2 separate regions of the Homo sapiens genome follow, and region 2 is linked to region 1. Evidence: promoter capture Hi-C in 16 types of primary human blood cells and fetal thymus (Javierre and others, 2016). All regions are on one chromosome and are shown on one strand. Each heading gives the region's core, a stretch centred on a gene start or on the middle of the fragment in contact. The rest is flanking DNA. Distances are from core to core; before and after follow the strand shown. Region 1 holds the start of AMBP (alpha-1-microglobulin/bikunin precursor). Region 2 holds the start of DELEC1 (deleted in esophageal cancer 1).

What was found. The method cuts DNA at HindIII sites, captures the fragments that hold promoters and counts their contacts. A CHiCAGO score of 5 or more calls a contact.
Region 2: the fragment with the promoter of DELEC1 here is called in contact with the fragment with the promoter of AMBP in region 1 in 4 of 17 cell types (activated CD4 T cells, non-activated CD4 T cells, naive CD8 T cells and 1 more); the score reaches 9.1 in activated CD4 T cells.

The regions. Positions count from the first base shown.
Region 1 is chr9:114,076,993-114,079,660 of GRCh38, reverse strand. AMBP (alpha-1-microglobulin/bikunin precursor) reads left to right here and starts at 1,361. Exons shown (of 10, transcript NM_001633.4): 1 at 1,361-1,568. The coding sequence starts at 1,452. The HindIII fragment of the contact is 5,279 bases long and covers 768-2,668 here.
Region 2 is chr9:115,140,462-115,143,129 of GRCh38, reverse strand. DELEC1 (deleted in esophageal cancer 1) reads right to left here and starts at 1,312. Exons shown (of 8, transcript NR_163556.2): 1 at 1,262-1,312. The HindIII fragment of the contact is 2,096 bases long and covers 1-1,656 here.

The DNA.
Region 1 (2,668 bases), core at 112-2,611:
AATAAATAAATAAAACCTTAAGTTTAATAACTACTGTATTAGTTTCCTAGGGCTGCTAGGAAATGTGTCTTCTCTCAGCACTGGAGGTCAGACACCTGAGACCAAATTTTCAGCAGAGCCATGTTCCCTTTGAAGATTCTGGGGAAAAGTCCTTCCTTGCCTTTTGCTAGCTTTTGGTGGCTGCCATCAATCCTTGGTGATTTTTGACGTGTCACTGCATCCCTCCCATCTCTGCCTTCGGCGTCACGCCACATCTTCCCCGTGCTTCTCTCTGTGTCCCTGTGTCTGAGTCTCCCTCACCATTCTCTTATAAAGATACCGGTCATTGGATTTAAAACCCCTGTCATCCAGTTCAACCTCATCTAACTAATCACATCTGCAAATCAGGTTCATTCTGCGGTTCGGGGTGCACATGGATTCTGGAGGGGGCACTGTTCAACCCACCACAAACACTCAGCTCTTACTCTATGCTGGGTACTGTCCTAGCGCATTGCAGGTGCTCACTCAACAATGCTAGGAGCTAGGAACTATTATTATCCCCATTTACAGATGAGGAAACCAAGGCACTGAAAGGTAAAGTGACTTGCCCAAGGTCACACAGCAGTGAGTGCCACTGTAGGCTGCCTGGCTCCCACGTCCATGGTCTCTACCACGCCTTTCCCAGCTACTCCACTCCCGGCTGAGGGATTCTGGGCAAGTCACTTCACTTCTTGGAGACTCAACTCCTCTGCCTGTAAAGGGGACAAATAGCACCTACTTCGTAAGCTTGTTGTGGGGATTTACTGGACACCTGTGGCACGTGTAAAGTGCCTGGTACACAGCCAGCACATAGCAGGTGCTCAGTGAACGGAAGCTCGTAACAGTCATCATTGTTAATGTCTCTATTATTTGCAAAGGCTAGGGCAAGCCTGGGGGCTGGAGAAGGAACTCTGGAGACAGGATACCTGGGTTCTGGTCTTGGCTCTGCCCATAGACTTCCCTGAGGTCTCTGGCAAGTCACTTCCTCTCCTTGGGCCTCAGTTTTTTCCTGTGAGAAATGGGCCCAATCAGGCTTGACCTGCTGGCTCACAGAGCTGTGAGGTCCAGATGGCATGACTCAGCAGAAAGGCCAGGTCGCTCCCCATCCTCGCATGCCCTCTGTGGGGGACTTTTGGGGGGCGGAGCCCAATCCTGGTGCTCCAGGGCCCTATTGTGCTTGGCCAATGCCTCTTCTGAAGCAGCCATCCCGGCCTCTTGGTACTGCTGACCCCAGCCAGGCTACAGGGATCGATTGGAGCTGTCCTTGGGGCTGTAATTGGCCCCAGCTGAGCAGGGCAAACACTGAGGTCAACTACAAGCCACAGGCCCCTTCCCCAGCCTCAGTTCACAGCTGCCCTGTTGCAGGGAGGCGGTGGCCCTTCTGTTGCTAGACCGAGCCTGTGGGATATACCAAGGCAGAGGAGCCCATAGCCATGAGGAGCCTCGGGGCCCTGCTCTTGCTGCTGAGCGCCTGCCTGGCGGTGAGCGCTGGCCCTGTGCCAACGCCGCCCGACAACATCCAAGTGCAGGAAAACTTCAATATCTCTCGGGTAAGGCTGCCGCTCTCTGTGGTAGGGTGGATGTGGTGATGGGGAGTCCAGGCAGATGGGCCCTGCTGGGCAAGTGCGGCCTGTCTCGGGGTCTCAGGCTTCCACTCAGATCATCTGGGATTATGGGATCCTTTGAAGGTACAGCTCTATCCCCTGCCATTCCGTGGGTCTCTTGGCTGACATTCTATGAGTCAAACATCCTCACCTTCTGCACTGTCCTCGTGGGCTCCAAGGGGAACCCTTGTGTTAATGGGAACCTGCTCCAGAGAAGGCTTTGTCCTGCCTGCCACTGCCCTGCAGCCCCCGTGCAGACACCTAGCTTTGCCCAGACCTCCCAGCCCTTCCTTCTCTAATGACTCCCCTCTCTCTGTGGCATCTTTCCCTTAGCTCTTCCTGTGTCCCCTGCCCACATCCTGGCCTGACTGTGGACAGACACCTGGGGTGGCACAGCGTGGGCATGTGGCCAGCAGCTTTTGGGTTGGGCATGTGGGGCTTATGGGAAGAGGTGAAGCAGGACAGAGATTAGGGTTGGGAGACATTCAGAGGCTTGGGCACAAGGAGAGACCTGGACTGGGGCAGGACACTCTCCTGTGAGTGTGGAGTGCCAGAGCTGCCTTCCAGCCCCCACTCTGCCCTAAATCCCGGGGTGGCTTTGAGAATACCCTTGCCCACCTGGGGCTGTCTCCATGTCTGTATGAAGGGTCTCAGAACCTTCTAGCTGTGGTGTCATGTGGGTTTTGTTTACTTTTAGGGACAAGGAAAGGTCGTGGCAGAGGGGCAATGAGGAGCAGGTCCCTGTGGCAGTCTGGGACGCAAAGGGTGTGGGGCACATTGGCCTGTTCCGTAGGAGCCTGAGGGCTCCTTCAGCTGTCCCGTGCACTTTCAGGAGGAAGAGGAAGCAGGCCTATCCTGAATGACCCCATCATGTTCATTATACTTTTGAAATAATTCCTAACATGGGGCTGTGGGCTGCCTTGCAAGGTGGGGAGCACCCCATCATTGGAGGAGTAAAAGACAGGACTCCAGCTCTTGGGGAGCAGTGGTTGATGGAGCTATGGACAGATCCCACATCTTGAGAGAGTTAGCCCTTCTGCAGGGCA
Region 2 (2,668 bases), core at 63-2,562, 1.1 Mb before region 1:
TCCCTGTGTTCACACAGTTCTCCTCTTTTTGAATCCCAAACTCTCCTGCCCACTGACCACAGGTCTCCAGGGAGGATGAATAAAGGGTTAGATTCTGTTGAATTGAGTCATCTGACATCATTTAAATAAAGTTGTGGACACCAATAGAAGAGTACATGGTCATCAACAGGACGGATAGAGTTGGGTGTCGCTTTGGAGACCCTTGGAGATGCACAGCTATGCTCGGTCTCCAGGCTTGTCATAGTTGAAACTACAGAGGCGATTCTTGGAGAAGGACATTTCCCCCCAAAGAGGCAGTCCTCAATAATGCCATCTTTGTTGCAGCAGAACATCGGCAACCTTGTTCTGAGCTGAGTCCAAGTTGAGGGGAAAGAGGGGAACAGCCAGCTGTGAAAAGATCAATTTGTTTCCAATCCATTCTTTCTTATGGTTAGAGAGGCTGGCTCCCCACACTGGCTGGGTCTGTCAGGGACAGATGCCAAGTAGGGCACAGACTGAAGAAACACCCCCTGTTCCCACTGAAGCAGGAGCATTCAGCCTCTGCTCTGAGTAAGCCTCAGAGTCTATGGCATTAGCCATCCCCTAGTTAGGTTGCTTTGGGGAGACACAAGTTGGGGCAGATGAGAGGGACGCCCCAAGTCTAATTCAAAACTACAATTATTCAAACCCTCCATTTATTTATGTTTGTAAATACCCAGTGTTGGCAGGTTGTGGGAAAGCAGGGGTTACCATATACCATAGCTGAGAGTGTAAATTGGTATAACCTCTTAAGAAAACCATTTGGCAGAATCTATGGAAATTGAAAGTGCATAGACCCTATGTTACAGACAGTCTACTTCTAGGAATTTATCCTTCAGATAAATTCTCAGAAGTGCACCCAGATGAATGCACAAGGAGGATGTTTATTACAGCATTGTTTGTCACAGAAAAAGTCCAGAATCAACTGAACATTATGTTGTAGAGTAAAAGAATGAGCCACACATAGAAAGAGGTCTGAGAGAAAAAGGAGGAAGGAATATTCAGTTTGGTATGCATGGTAAAAATCTATTTATTATACATAAAGTTAACCCCTGCATCAACATGTATGTTTTACATCCTGTTGGATCTCTGCTAATACCTCTGTCTGTTCCTACCCCTATCCCAAGATTCAATAATACAAGGCAAGAAGACTCCTGTACGGCCCTGTGGATGTGCAAGATGCTAAGAATGAGTGGATATTACAGATAGATGTAAAAGTAGGAACCTTGCCAGCCTCTATTACCTTTCCTCAGTAGATCTGTCTTCCTGGGCCAGGGTGAGGTAGAAACAATAGCTAGATGAGTAATCAGTGGCTTGTATGGCTTGGCATTTTTCCTGAGCTCCCTTTGGAGAGGGAACTAAGACCATACTCAGTATTTTCAGGTTTTCAGTCTCTTCATAATTGACGGCCCATTCCCTCCTCTTATCAAATTGCACAGAGATCAAATGTGAAGGAGCCTGAAAGAAAGGACAGCGTGTATTGCTCAATTAAGAATTTGCTCCCTTCCAGCTCTAAAACATCCCCAAATTTTCCAGTTGCAAATGTTACCAAATTTACAATGACCACCAAATGTTGAATAAAACATATGTAATTCTACCCATCCTGGCAATAATTCACTGTGGAGTTTTGGTCAAGCTTCCTGCTCTCAGTCAGCCTCAGTTTTCCCTGTGGTTCATGTGATAAGGACTATGTACCTAGGGGGGCAAGAGCAGATCACCTGTGCCCCTCTCTCCCTGCTTCCTCTGACAGGCATAGCTAATCAATCACAACATGCTTTCCTACAGATCTCAGATGATTCCTCTGACTACTTCTTGACACAGAATTGTAAGCAATCACAAATATTTAATCCAAATTGATGTAAAAGTCAACATTTAATTGTCCTCTCCATACTAGATGATATCTGAAGTTCATTCCAGATTTAACATTCTGTTTCCACAATTCAAGGATTCATTTGAACGCCAGCTCGTTCATGAAGTCAACCTAGATTGCTGAAGAACAAGTTAATTTTTCCTGTTTCTGACTTATGGAGACAGAGCTATATAAGTCGATATGAACTTGACTTCTGGTTTCTTTGCATTGTTATCTCATTGTCACCTGTATAACAATGCTGCCTCCATGGGGAAATTTAATTTAAGTATAGAAAGTACATCCCATATAATAATTTTCAGACTGTGATGCATAGTACCCCCAGAGTTACTCAAAGATTTTCCATGGGCTCTAGTTGGCAGAGATAAGGAAATTTTCAGATTCTCAGCTTTCATTTGCACTCTTTCTCAGGAATCTGAAGAGAGTCCCTTTTTCGTAAATGCTTTTCTCTCACTTTACAAATGGAATTCATACCTCTCACTCATCTCGAGTTGCTTTGGGGTATAAAAATTTCTGGGGGACCAAACAAAGGTACAACTCAAAATTCTTTCGAGAAAAAGTGTTGAGAAAGTGAATGACTAATGACCTTGCAGCAAATCATTCTGCAAGTCAGATGACTTTCAATGCTTTAGTTACAACAAAACTGAAGGGGAACCTAATTAAAATGTCACCTGAGAAAGTATTAAAAATCCTATTTGATGATTGATCTTTATGTGATTTTTGGCATACAACCTGGTAAGAAGTTATAACACTGCTATAAGAAAAGTTTTTCTTTTCCCATCT